Linked DNA regions of Homo sapiens: region 2 is linked to region 1. The links are contacts of gene promoters, found by promoter capture Hi-C in blood cells and fetal thymus (Javierre and others, 2016). All regions are on one chromosome and are shown on one strand. The core of a region is centred on a gene start or on the middle of the fragment in contact, and the rest is flanking DNA. Distances in the headings are between cores, read along the strand shown.

What was found. Contacts are between HindIII fragments. The CHiCAGO score rates a contact against its expected background, and 5 or more counts as called.
Region 2: a fragment that was not itself captured here is called in contact with the fragment with the promoter of GHRH in region 1 in 7 of 17 cell types (endothelial precursors, M2 macrophages, M1 macrophages and 4 more); the score reaches 7.2 in endothelial precursors.

The regions. Positions count from the first base shown.
Region 1 is chr20:37,259,381-37,266,163 of GRCh38, reverse strand. GHRH (growth hormone releasing hormone) reads left to right here and starts at 4,350. Exons shown (of 5, transcript NM_021081.6): 1 at 4,350-4,421. RefSeq lists silencers at 709-758, 899-1,018. The HindIII fragment of the contact is 7,318 bases long and covers 1-6,200 here.
Region 2 is chr20:37,552,813-37,559,595 of GRCh38, reverse strand. No RefSeq gene overlaps it. Among named protein-coding and RNA genes, the nearest start is that of LINC01746, 15 kb to the left of the region's middle. The HindIII fragment of the contact is 917 bases long and covers 3,558-4,474 here.

The DNA of each region.
Region 1 (6,783 bases), core at 3,101-5,600:
TTCCTAGCAAAGGAAAAACTGTAAGACAGCAGATTAGGGGTTGCCTAGGGCAGGGGGCAAGAGTGGAGACTGAGAGCAAATGGGCTAGAGGGAATTTTTGGAGGGACAGAAGCATTCCAAAACAGGATTGTGGCAATGGTGGCACCACCGTATAAATGTATGAAAGCTCATGGAGCCATAGACTTAAAACCAGTGAGCTTTATGATATGTTAACTCTTTTTTGTTTGTTTATTTGTTTTTTAGATGGAGTCTCCCTCTGTCGCCCAAGATGGAGCACAGTGGCGCGATCTTGGCTCCCTGCAACCTCCACCTCCCTGGTTCAAGCAATTCCCCTGCCTCAGCCTCCCGAGTAGCTGGGATTACAGGCGCATGCCACCACGCCCGCCTAATTTTTTTGTATTTTTAGTAGAGACAGGGTCTCACCATGTTGGCCAGATTGGTCTCGAACTCCTGACCTCAGGCAATCCGCCTGCCTCGGCCTCCCAAAGTGCTGAGATTACAGGTGTAAGCCACCACGCCCGGCCAAACTGTTGAAGTTCTTTTTAAAAAAAAAAAAAAAAAAATTAGAACTGGTAGGCCCAGGAAGGGCCTTAGTGTGGGGCAAACAAATTGGAAATCAGAAAACTTTTTTTTCCTTTTTTTTTCAATAGAGACAAGGTGTCACTCCATTGCCCAGGCTGGAGTACGGAAGCACGAACATAGCTCACTGCAGCCTCTAACTCCTGGGCTCAAGTGATCCTCCTGCCTCAGCCTCCTGAGTAGCTGGGGCTGTAAGGAAGTCAGAAAACATGTTTGAGTCATAGCTCTTCCAGCTACTGACTAGCTCTGTGGCTGTGGCTGAGCACGTAACCTTTCATGCCTGTTTCCTCATTTACCGCAATGACAAGAACAGCAATTATCAAAGCTAAATTGTGAGCTCTGCCCTATGCCAGGTCTGCCCTTTATGCAATGTCACAATAATTCTCACCCAAGAGCCTCATAAGTTGAGCTCTATCACTCCCATTTTACAAATAAGAAAACTGAGATAGGGCGTGAAGTCTGTAGCACAATGCCTGGCACAGAGTTTCAACCGAGGCTGGATTCTGAGCCCCATGGCTTCTCCGGCCAACTCCATGTAACCTGCATCTGTGCCCTGGACCAGCGTCCACTCTGGGTGCCCAGCTCTGCATGGTCCCCACTTTGCATTTCCAGGAGTTACCCCACACTTCCTGACTGTGCGAGAGCCCATAGCCCTGGGGCTCCCAACTGCTTCGTCTGCTCCCTGCTGCTGTGACCTGCACTTTTTTTTTTTAAATAATATTTGAGTTCTGGCCAGGACAACATAGTGAGATCTCATCTCTACTAAAAATAAACAAAATTAGCTGGGCATGGTGGCGTGCAACTGCAGTCCCAGCTACTCAGGAGGCTGAGGTTGGGGACTGCTTGAGCCTAGGAGGTCAAGGCTGCAGTGAGCTGAGATCTCACCACTACACTCTAGCCTGAGCGAGACCCTGTCTCCAAAAAATTAAGTAAATAAAATAATAATAATAATAATTAATTTAAAGCTATCAACCCATTTATTTTTATTTTTATTTTTATTTATTTATTTATTTTATTTATTTTTTTGAGACGGAGTCTCACTCTGTCACCCAGGCTGGAGTGCAGTGGCACCATCTTGGTTCACTGCAAGCTCCGCCTCCTGGGTCCTGAGCCATTCTTCTGCCTCAGCCTCCCGAGTAGCTGGGACCACAGGCACCCACCACCACGCCCGGCTAATTTTTTGTATTTTTAATAGAGACGGGATTTCACCATGTTAGCCAGAATGATCTCGATCTCCTGACCTCGTGAGCCGCCCGCCTCAGCCTCCCAAGGTGCTGGGATTACAGACGTGAACCACCACGCCCTGTTTTTATTTATTTTTTTTTTTGAGACAGAGTCTCACTCTGTTGTTCAAGCTGAAGTGCAGCGGCGCCATCTCGGCTCACACCAACCTCTGCCTCTGGGGCTTAAGCTATTCTTGTGCCTCAGCCTCCCCAGTAGCTGGGATTACAGGCACATGCCACTACACCCAGCTAATTTTTTTGTATTTTAGTAGAGACGGGGTTTCACCATGTTGCCCAGAGTGGTCACGAACTCCTGAGCTCAGGCAGTCCGCCTGCCTCGGCCTCCCAAAGTGCTGGGGTTACAGGCATGAGCCACCGCACCTGGCCACTATCAGCCCATTCTTAATCCTTGGGGATCTGGCCTGACCTGACCACTTCGTATCCTGGCCAGCAAGGTGACATACCACTCAAGCCTTGCTTCTATGAGAAACATCTCATATTTGCTAGATGCCAAGAACATGGCTCAGTGCAGGCTAAGAAGGAGAACCACAAAATAGTGTTGCTAAGGGGACTCTTGGAAATTACTGGCTTGTAATTGTGACCCATCGAGGTACCTCAGGGATAGGCAAGGGGGTCTCCACTTCCCCCTCTTCAACCAGAGTAGCCCCATATTAAAAACCTGTCTCTGTAGGTTTCCAAAGAAAGAGTTTTGCTACTTTTTAAAAAATGTTTGGGCTGGGTGTGGTGGCTCACACCTGTCATCCCAGTGCTTTGGGAGGCAGAAGCACGTGGATCACCTGAGGTCAGAAGTTTGAGACCAACCTGGCCAACATGGTGAAATCCCATCTCTACTAAAATACAAAACTTAGCCAGGCGTGGTGGTACGCACCTGTAATCCCAGCTACTCTGGAGGCTAAGGCAGGAGAATCATTTGAACCCGGGAGGTGGAGGTTGCAATGAGTCGAGATTATGCCACTGCACTCCAACCTGGGTGGCAAAGATAGGATCCCTCTCAAAAAAATAGTTTGAAAGTTGCTGTTCTATGTCAACTCTCAAGTTTCCAGGTAGAAACTGAGGCCCGGAGGGTAGAAGTTTTTTTTCTTTTTTTGAGACAGAGTCTCGCTCTGTCGCCCAGGCTGGAGTGCAGTGGCACGATCTCGGCTCACTGCAACCTCCACCTCCCGGGTTCAAGCAATTCTCCTGCCTCAGCCTCCTGAGTAGCTGGGATTACAGGTGCCCACTACCACACCCAGCTAATTTTTGTATTTTTAGTAGAGACGGGGTTTCACCATGTTGGTCAGGCTGGTCTCGAACCCCTGACCTCATGATCCACCCGCCTCAGCCTCCCAAAGTGCTGGGATTACAGGTGTGAGCCACTGCACCCAGCCAGGTAGAAGTAACTTCCTAAGGGTCACAGAGGTCATGATTGACAGGCTTGGGAGAGGCAGCAGGTCCCTAGACTCGAGGCTTGGAGCTCTTTCCACACCTCCACGACGGCCGCCTGGGAAACCAGAGCTTCTGCCTCCTGTGCTTTTATGTCATTCCTGAGGATTTCTTAGCTATAGGCTAGAGAAATCTGGAAACACAACAACTCTCCCAAGGTTTTCCATCTCTTCCCTCTCATTTCACACTTCTCTGAGGCAACTGCCAATGTCTGGCTGCCTTGACAGGTGACGACGGATGCCCCCAGGCTAGCTGTTGAAATCAGCCTGTGACCAAGCAGGTGTAAATCAAATAGTGCAGAATTCTGATAATTGGACGACAAGGGAGATAGGGAACAAATTCCCCACTAAGGAGAGAATAACGCTTATTCATAATGTTGTCTACCCAAAAGTGAAATAAAATTACACAGGGACAAAGCTAAATTATATGAACTTTTGAAAAGGCACATTTATCTTGGAGAATCAATAAACTCTTGGTGTTTCACTGTTATGAGTTCTCCAATTATTTTTAACACATATTTTTTCTTTTTTTAAAAAATATATATTTTGAGATAGAGTCGTGCTCTGTCACCCAGGCTGGAGTGCCATAGCGTGGTCTTGGCTCACTGCAACCTCCGCCTCCCAGGCTCAGGTGACACTCTTGCCTCAGCCACCTGAGTAGCTGGGACTATACCCATGTGCCAACATGCCCAGCTAATTTTTAATTTTTTTCTAGAGACAGGGTCTCATTATGTTGCCCAGGTTGGTCTCAAACTTCTGAGCTCAGGCAATCCACCCGCCTCAGCCTCCCAAAGTGCTAGGATGGCAGGTGTGAGCCACCGCGCCCAGCCGAGTTCTCCAATCACTATTATAGCAGTATATATTCTCTATATCCTCTTGGAATAATGTTACACCTTTGTACTATGTCCACTGTGCCAAAGATAAAAGGAGACTTTACCAGGAGTCTAAGTCTGCAAGGGGCCAAACCTCTTTCACCAACAGGGTTTGTCAGTGTGATATGATGCTAAAAACAGTCCTTTGGTTGACTTGTGGGTAATTGATTCTCTGACGCTGACAACGCTTAGGAAAATGAAGAGATAAATGATGGGAACGCCAGGCGGCTGCCAGAGCAAACACCCAGCCCAGGGCCCCTGGATTTGAGCAGTGCCTCGGAGCAGAGGGATATCTGCCGCATCAGGTGAGAGGGGTGGCCCTGGGGGGGCTAGGCTGGGTGGGGGTAAGAAAAGTTAACCTTCTCACCAACTTAGAAACACTGAGTCCAAGAGGCCCACCGCCATCCTCTTTGCCCATGGACTGGTGAGTACATTTGAGCCCCTCTCTGGATAAAATCACCCCTCAATAGGGGCTCTGGAATAGGCTTTTGATGGTGCTGTTTGGGGCTTGTCTTAACTTGGGCGCGTGGCGGACTGGCTCCAGGTGTCTGTCGCAGGTGGTGAGGTCTCAGTGCTCCTTCGAGGATGCGTGGGCAGGCTTCGGGGGCAAACGTGAGTTGGCTCGATTTTCCTGTCAGCGATGGGATTCTGCCATGGATCAGAGATGAGCCAAGTGGCTGTGCAAATCAATACTGCTCATTGATCACTCAGAACTGATTCAATGTAATTGCCGGGAAATTGATAACATTTTGCTTTCTTGCTCAATTGCAGCCACACTCTTTACTCCAGGTTTTAGACACAATTATCTGCCTTTGGAGTCCTCCGCTACCCCACGCCTGTCTCCTGATCCTTGCTTTAATGGTCCTGAAGTATTTGTGTCTTTCACCATAGACTGCCTCAAACCCCTTCTGGAAGGAGGTGGAGTGTCACTCTTTTGAATGACAGTTCAAGATGCTTCCTCATTAAAAACTTAGATTTCTTTTAACTTGGAATGCTGTCACTGAAACAGTTTATAAACCAGATCAGGAAGTCTATGCTTTGGGGTGCTCAAATTTCAAAGGGGGATATTCAAGGAAGGTTAAAGATGTTCTTTCCCTGGGTTTTCAAAAATGGCCTTGCGAATTTGGGTGCTTGAGACCTGACCTCTGTCAGCTGCAGGTGAATCTGCAGAATTCTCCTGGCATTCCTGGCATGAAAGCTGGCAAAAGGTGCCAACGGATGTAGATCAAGTGCCCGTTTATCCTGAATCCAGGCAATCTCAAGTACATCTAATCCCAGAATCAGTAAGCACTGCAGGAAGCTAACCGATGATCATAATGATAGATTATAAACTCTGGAGTGCCTTCAGTCATCAGGGTTGCCAGCAATGCTGTTGGGCTCGGCTACACTTCATTCAGTGAATTTTGACTCCTTAAGTTGTCATGTGGAATGTGTCTGTTGACAGCTATTTTATTTTATTCTTTGAGATGGGGTCTTGCTCTGACATTTAGGCTACTGTGCAGTGGCACTATCATGGATCACTGCAGCCTTAACCTCCCGGGCTCAAGCAATCCTCCCACATCAGCCTCCAGAGTAGCTGGGACTACAGGCATGCGCCACCATGCCTAGATAAGTTTTTTTTTGTTTTGTTTTGTGTGTTTTTTTTTTTGTAGAGATGGGGTCTCGCCATGTTGCTCAGGCTGGAGCTATTTTATCCTTAGTGACATAACCTCTATTCTTCTTATCTTACCCTACACTGGATAATTCTTGTTTCCCATTTTCATCCAGTGGGATCTGCAAACCCATGGATTCGGTTCTCATAGCTCAGAGGTTGCTGTGGGGTCTTGACCTATGCCTGGGGCACAGGATTTGTGGCAAATGTTGAGCCTCTTGGTTAACTTGTGCAGTTGCTGAGCCTTATCTTGAATGAGCGGGGTATTGTGTTTACTATGACTTGCCCTCCCCACCAAAGTCTGCCCTCCTATGAGGTTGTTTCAACTCCCTGAAACTACTGGGTGTGCATAGGGAGGGGCCAATCAAGCAGGTGTTCCTGTTTGTCCCTGTTCTTTCTTCCCCAGAGGCCCAACAACAAAGAGCAAGAAGCTTTCCTTTTTTTCAGACCCTTTCCCACGTGCAGGTGATGGAGGCTGAGGATCCCTGTGAATGGGGAATACTGTGAATAGAGCATTGTACCTGGGAGGCTGCTGCATGGAGCGGAAGGAAGTCTGCCGGCCTGGGAATGAGGAGGCCCACTCTGAAGTGCCCACTCCAAAACTAATTTGATGGAGGATCATGGAAAATGTCCTTGTCCTCTCTAGGCTCTTTTCCTTGGCTGTAAGAGGAGCATGGGGATGCCTGCTCCAGAGGGAGAGTGCAAGGATGGGTTGTGGAGCCTGATAGGGCACAGGGGCTGGGAATCACTTGTGCCAGCCCTTGGGAGAAGGGGCAGGCAGAGGGAGAGCTTAAGCCAAGAGAAGGGGTTTGAGCTTTATTCTGGAAGGAGTGGGGAGCCAAGGGCTTCTGAGCAGGGGAGGGAGGTGATTGGGGACCTAGATCTGCCTGAATCTTTAAAAGATCAGCAGCAAAGAAGGCAAGAAAGCCAGGCTGCAGCTGGGAGACAGAAAAGGCAGTGGTTTCTGTCAAGGGGCCCTGCTTGCATCCAGAGATCTCTCGGCTTAGGAAATTCCA
Region 2 (6,783 bases), core at 2,767-5,266, 290 kb before region 1:
CCGACCTCCTGTCTCATCCTGTGACCAAGACTGCCTAACCTCCCGGGAATGCAGCCCAGCAGGTCTCAGCCTCATTTCACCCAGCCCCTATTCAAGATGGAGTTGCTCTGGTTCAAACACCTCTGACTCTGGCATGTACCCAAGGGCTGCCAATTGTTGACTTAATTAAAACAATTAAAAAGGGGGACTGCTCTGCCCTCATCCCGATCGTGTGCCTCCAGTTGTGTCCACAAAGACAGCTGCATATGGTGGACTGTGAGGACCCACATCAACTGGAAAAATGACGCCTGCAACTCCAGAGGAAGCTAGGGAAGTAGTGGTGACCCTAACATTTCTTGCTTGTTTTGCTTTGGGGTTCCCATGAAAGCAGACCCTGAGGCAAAAATTTGGGTGCAGGTGGTTTCTTTGGGAGGTAGTTCCAGGAAGCACAATTTGAGAGTCAGGAAGCCATCCAGGGAAGGGAAGGAAGCCAGTACAGGGCGCTAATGAATGGGTTCCTGCTGTGGACAGCTGGGGCTCAGTTTGGCTGAGGTCCCTCTGGGAGACTGCAGACCACACCTCAGAGCTGTGCCACTGAGAGGAGAGGCTGGGCCATTTACCCAGCTCCCATCTTCTGCTGGACCATGGTGAGTCTGGGACGTGTGTAGGCTGAGCTGGCCCTGGCCAGAGAATGCCCTTGGGCAGAAAGACACAGAAAGCTGCTGGTGAGCATGGTACTCTCTGCATGTCAATTCCAAGATGGGTCAAGGGAAGGGTGTGGACAGGGTGCCAACCACGTCTGCTACAGCATTTGACTGGGGACACAGGAAGGAACGCTTTGTCACACAGAGGTTTGCAAATTTTGTTTCATTGCAGTGAATAAGAATCCAAGTCTTAGAAAAGAGGTTCTGTAACATGGCCAACTGTGACACCTCCTGTTAGAAGCAGCCTGGTACCTTCAAGCCCCAAACTAGGGCGTCCCTCAACTCCTGGCCCGCTTCATTCCCACATCCAATCAGGCTCCCAGGCCTGTAGATTCTCCCTTCCTCCAGGTCCCACAGGCCCTGGCCTCATGCCTTCCAGACTAGTGCACGTTCCCCAGTCCATCCAGTTGGGCCTTCAACTCCAGCCCCACCACCCTCTTCACTCATTCTGTCCTTGCTGTGGCTCCCACCATCCACAGCAGCATTTGCCAAATGTCTGCCCTGGGGTTTCACCTGTATTTATTATTTACTTAATATATTTCTTCAAGTCGACTTGCCTTTTTGATTTATATACATTTATCTTTAAAAGGAAACTATTAAAATGATTTACTATTTTAAAATCCTTATAAAATTATGAGTTCAGCTGAGCATGGTGGCTCACACCTGTAATCCCAGTACTTTGGGAGGCCGAGTCAGGAAGATCAATTGAGCCCAAGAGTGTGAGATCAGCCTGGGCAACATAGTGAGACCCTGTCTCAAAAGGAAAAAAAAAGAAAAGAAAGAATTATGAGTCCTACATCAAATCACCCAGACAGGTACCACCTACCCTCTCCAGTGAAACTGACTTCACACTAAGAAAACTGCTGGAAGTTAGAATCAATCTTTAGCTGGGTGTTAAAAACCTTTTATTTAATTTTATTTATTTATTTTTGAGACAGGGTATCACTCTGTTGCCCAGGCTGGAGTGCAGTGGCACAATTGTAGCTCACTGCAAACTCAACCTCCCAGGCTTAAGTGATCCTCCTGCCTCAGCCTCCCAAGTAGCTGAGACTACAGGCGCGCCACCATGCTCAGCTAATTTTTCATTTTTTGGGTACAGACGGGGTCTTGCCACGTTGCCCAGGCTGGTCTCCATCTCCTGGGCTCAAGTGATCTCCCTGCCTTGGCCTCCCAAAGTGCTGGGATTACAGGCATGAGCCACCATGCCTGGCCTTAAAAACCTTTTGTGTCCAGGGTTCTACCTGCATCTCCAGATTCACACCCTACCACCCTACCACCCTACACACACACACACACACACACACACACACACATTCATACTCACGCACATATGCACACACATGCACTCACACAGCCAGAGGCAGTGGCTCTTATCTATTCCAAACTCTTCTCTATGCTCTTACCTCTGCCTGAGATTTTCTTCCAATGTCCTTACGTACCCAGCACTCTCCTATTCATCCTTCAAAACCCAATTCACATTGCACTTGCTCTCTAGATTTTCTTCCCTCTCTGAGCTCCCAGAATTAATTTCTGCCTCATTTAGCTTCCTGCACTCCTCTGCTCACCTGCCCATCATAGCACAGACCACCTGGTGCCACAGGTGCCTGCCTCAATGCCTCCCTCCCCCACTTAGGAGTGCTTGTTTAGGGGAGCAGGGCCAGGAGTGTGTTGTATTCATAAAGCACCTGACAAGCATTTATTGAGCACCACCTATGTGCCAGGCACAGAGAAGTATATGGTGGATACAGCCACGAGCAAAACAGACCCAGTCCCTCTCTCCTAAATCTCACTGCCTGGTAGGGAAGACAGACACTAAATACTTAGAAAAACAAATGAGTACACACTTTCCAAATGGAGATAAGTGCTATTAAGAAAATATTCTGAGTGTTATGAGAGAGAATAATGGAGAACATTTTGGGACAGGGCAGGAAGAGAAGCCCTCTCTGAGGAGGTGACATTTGGGCTGAGTCCTGAAGGATGAGATAGGAAGGGGGTGGGGACAGTGCTTCAGGGAGGAGAAACAGCCTGTGTGAGGGCCCCAGGGTGGGAAAGTGGTATATTCCTTGAAAGAGAACCGAGGCCAGGAGGAGAAGGACAGGGAAGATGGCGGTAGCCAGATGACACTAAGAGTGGCAGACGCTGACAATGCCACAGACATCGATGGACACGCAGCCTGATGGCTTCTTGTGTCTTAGCCCAAGGGAGTCACCCGCCCACAGTCCTGAGCTTGGATGGATACAGAGGGCAAGCCAGGAGAGTTAAACCCCAGAATCAGAATTTAGAGGATAAATACCTGCATCTTCCACCAGGTCCAGGACTAGGGTGTAGCAGGGAGGTACAAGGGCACAAAACATGAGGGTCTCACCCTCAGGCTCTGCAAGGGCAGAAGCAGCACCTGATGGTGGGGGCCCTCTTAAATGTTTGTTGTTGTTATTGTTGTCATTGTTTGTTTGTTTGTTTTGAGATGAGTCTCACTCTGTCGCCCAGGCTGGAGTGTAGTGGTGCACTCTCGGCTCACTTCAACCTCTGCCTTCAGGGTTCCAGTGATTCTCCTGCCTCAGCCTCCCAAGTAGCTAGGATTACAGGTGTGCACCATCACACCTGGCTAATTTTTGTATTTTTAATACAGACAGGGCTTAACCATGTTGGCCAGGCTGGTCTTGAACTCCTGACCTCAAGTGATCCACTCACCTCAGCCTCCCGAAGTGCTGGGAATACAGGCATGAGCCTCTATGCCCAGCTTAAATGTTTTTATAACAACTTTATTGAGATATAATTCACATACCCCAAAGTTCACCCTTTAAAGTATACAATTCAGTAATTTTGAGTATATTCACAAAGTTTTGCCTTTCTATATAAATTTTAGAACAAGCTTGTCTATGTCTACAAAAGCCTCTCTGGGACTTTTACACGAATTGCACTCAATATATAAATCAATTTAGGGAGAACTGACATCTTTACTACGTTAAGTGATCCAATCCATGAACACAATGTCTCTCTTTATTTAGGTCTTCTTTGAATTTGTTCATCAGCATTTTGTAATTTTCAGCATACAGATCCTGTATGTGTTTTGTAAGTTTGTACCTTAGTATTTTGTTTTCTTTGAAGATACTTTAAATGGTACCATTGTAATTTGGGGATTTCACGTGTTCGTTGTTAGTATGTAGAAACAAAACGAAGTTACCTGATCTTAGAAAAATTTTAATATGGGATTCCATTTCTGCTTAGGATATAGAAAGCTGCAAGAGAAGGCCAGCCACGGTGGCTCACGCCTGTAATCCCAGCACTTTGGAAGGCCGAGGTGGGTGGATCACTCGAGATCGAGAGCTCGAGACCAGCCTGGCCAACATGGCAAAACCCCATCTCTACTAAATATACAAAAATTAGCCAGGCATGGTGGTGCATGCCTGTAGTCCCAGCTAGTCGGGAGGCTGAGGCAGGAGAATCGCTCGAACACAGAAGGCAGAGGTTGCAGTGAGCCGAGACTGCACCACTGCACTGCAGCCTGGGCAACAGAGCGAGACACTGTCTCAAAAAAAAACAAAAAGGGCTGCAAGAGAATGGTGCACTCATCCTAAAAAAGAGAAAAAGATAATTTATTTATAAAATCATAACTTTTCTTGAGCTCATCACAGAACTAAGATCACAATGTGAGCAGTGGCAAATCTGTATGGGTCTGCAGCAACCTCAATTCTTGCCTCCTCAGAGGAAAGAATTCAACTGAGGGCCATAAGACAGAGCGGGAGACCAAGGCAAGTTTTAGAGCAGAAGTAAACGTTTATTAAAAAGCTTTAGAGCAGGAATGAAAGGAAGTAAAGTACACTTGGAAGGGGGCCAAGCTGGCGACTTGAGAGAGTCAAGTGTGTGGTCTGACCTTTGACTTGGGGTCTTATACGTTGGCATGCTTCTGAGGTTGCCTGACTTCTTCCCTGATTCTTCCCTTGGGGTGGGCTGTCTGCATGCACAGGGGCCTGCCCGCATTTGGGACGGGCCGCATGCGCAGTGTGTTTACTGGCGTTGTACACATGCTCACTTGAGGCATTCTTCCCTTACCATTCAAGTGTTCCTAGAAGGCTACGTACCACTTAAACTCCACCATTTTGCCTTTTAGTGCGTATGCTTGAGCCCACTCGCCCAACTCCTGAGATCTTATCGGTAAGCTGATCACCCATTTCAGGTGTTTTTATCTATTGGGAGACTGCCTTTCCCTGGCGCCGGCTGCAACCAATTATTATTTTAAAGCAACAGTTTTAACAGCTGTCTGACCATCACCTGATGGTTGCCTGACATTCCTGGGTTTGGGGGGCCTCTCCTGCCCTGCTCGTGTCTGAGTAGCTACCTACTTACTTACTATGACAACAAGGTGACCAAATGAATTGAGTTCTAAAGAGTAATAATCTCCTTGAGGAAGAGACAGGACCTGCTGTAAAGCAGGTTCACTGTGCACTGGTTACCACCTCAGCCCTCTGCATCTTAGTCTGCGCTTTGTTGCTTGCTCAAGTCTATTGAGGCAGAATGCTCACACACACAAGTTACATGAAGATTTATTACTTACAGATAGCAGCAAGGAACAGTTAAAGCCTAGGATTCATGATGAGCTGGTCCTCCAAGGCTCAGGAGAGCTACCCAAGGCAGGTGGAGACTCATAGCCCAAGCCCAAAACATTTCATCCAACTGCTGACGAATATACATTCTACTCATCTGCACGTGGAACATTCTCCAGGATAGGCCACATTTTAGACCACAAAACAAGTCTTAACCAATTTTTAAAAATTTAAATTATACCAAACATCTTTTCTGACCATAATGGAATGACACTAGAAATAAATAACGAGGAACTTTTGAAATTGTACAAATACATGGAAATTAAACAACATGTCCAGGAATTTGTCCATTTCTTCTAGGTTTTCCAATTTGTTGGTATACAGCTGTTCATAATACTCTGTAATGATCCTTTGAATTTCTGTGCTATCAGTTGTAAGGACTCCCTTTTCATCTCTGATTTTATTTATGTAGATCTTCTCTTTTTTTATAGGTTAGTCTAGATAAAGGTTTGTTAATTTTGTTTATATTTTCAAAAAACCAACTTTTTGTTTCATTGATCTTTTGTATTTTTTTCATTTCAACTTCATTTATTTCTGTTTTTATCACTATTATTTCTTTCCTTCTAGTAATATTGGGTTTGGTTTGTTCTTGCTTTTCTAGTTCTTTAAGGTACATCATTAGGTTGTTTATTTAAAGTCTTTCTACTTTTTTTTTTTTTTTTTGAGACTGGATCTTGCTTTGTCACCTAGGCTGGAGTACAGTAGCACAATCACAGATCACTGCAACCCCAACTTCCCGGGCTCAAGGAACCCTCCCACCTCAGCCTCCCAAGTAACTAGGACCACAGGCATGGGCCACCATACTCAGCTGATTTATTTTTTATTTTTTGTAGAGACAAGGTCTCACTATGTTGCCCAGGCTGGTCTCAAACTCCTGGACTCAAGTAATCATCCTGCCTTGGCCTCCCAAAGTACTGGGATTATAGGTGTGAGACAGTGCACCTAGCCCTTTCTACTTTTTTGGATATGGGTGCTTATTGCTATAAACCTCCCTTTTTATACACTATTTTGCTGTATCCCATAGGTTTAGGGATGTTGTGTTTCTATTTTCATTTGTTTCAAAACAATTTAAAATTTTCTTCTTAATTTTTTTATTGACACATTGGTTGTTCAGGAGCACTAACTAATAAAAAAGAGAGAAGACCCACCTAAATAAAAGCAGAGATGAAAAAGGAGGCCTACAACCGATACCAGAGAAATTCAAAGGCTCATTAGAGAGTATTATGAACAACTGTATACCAACAAATTGGAACACTTAGAAGAAATGGACAAATTCCTGGACGTGTACAATCTACCAGTGTTGAACCATGAAACAATACAAAACCTGAACAGAACAATAACGAATAGCAAGATCAAATCAGTAACAAAAAGTCTCCCATCAAACAAAAGCCTAGGAACTGATTGGCTTCACTGCTGAAATTCCACAAAACATTTAAAGAATACCACTTCTACTCAAACTATTCCAAAAAATTGAAGAGGGAATACTTCTAAACTTA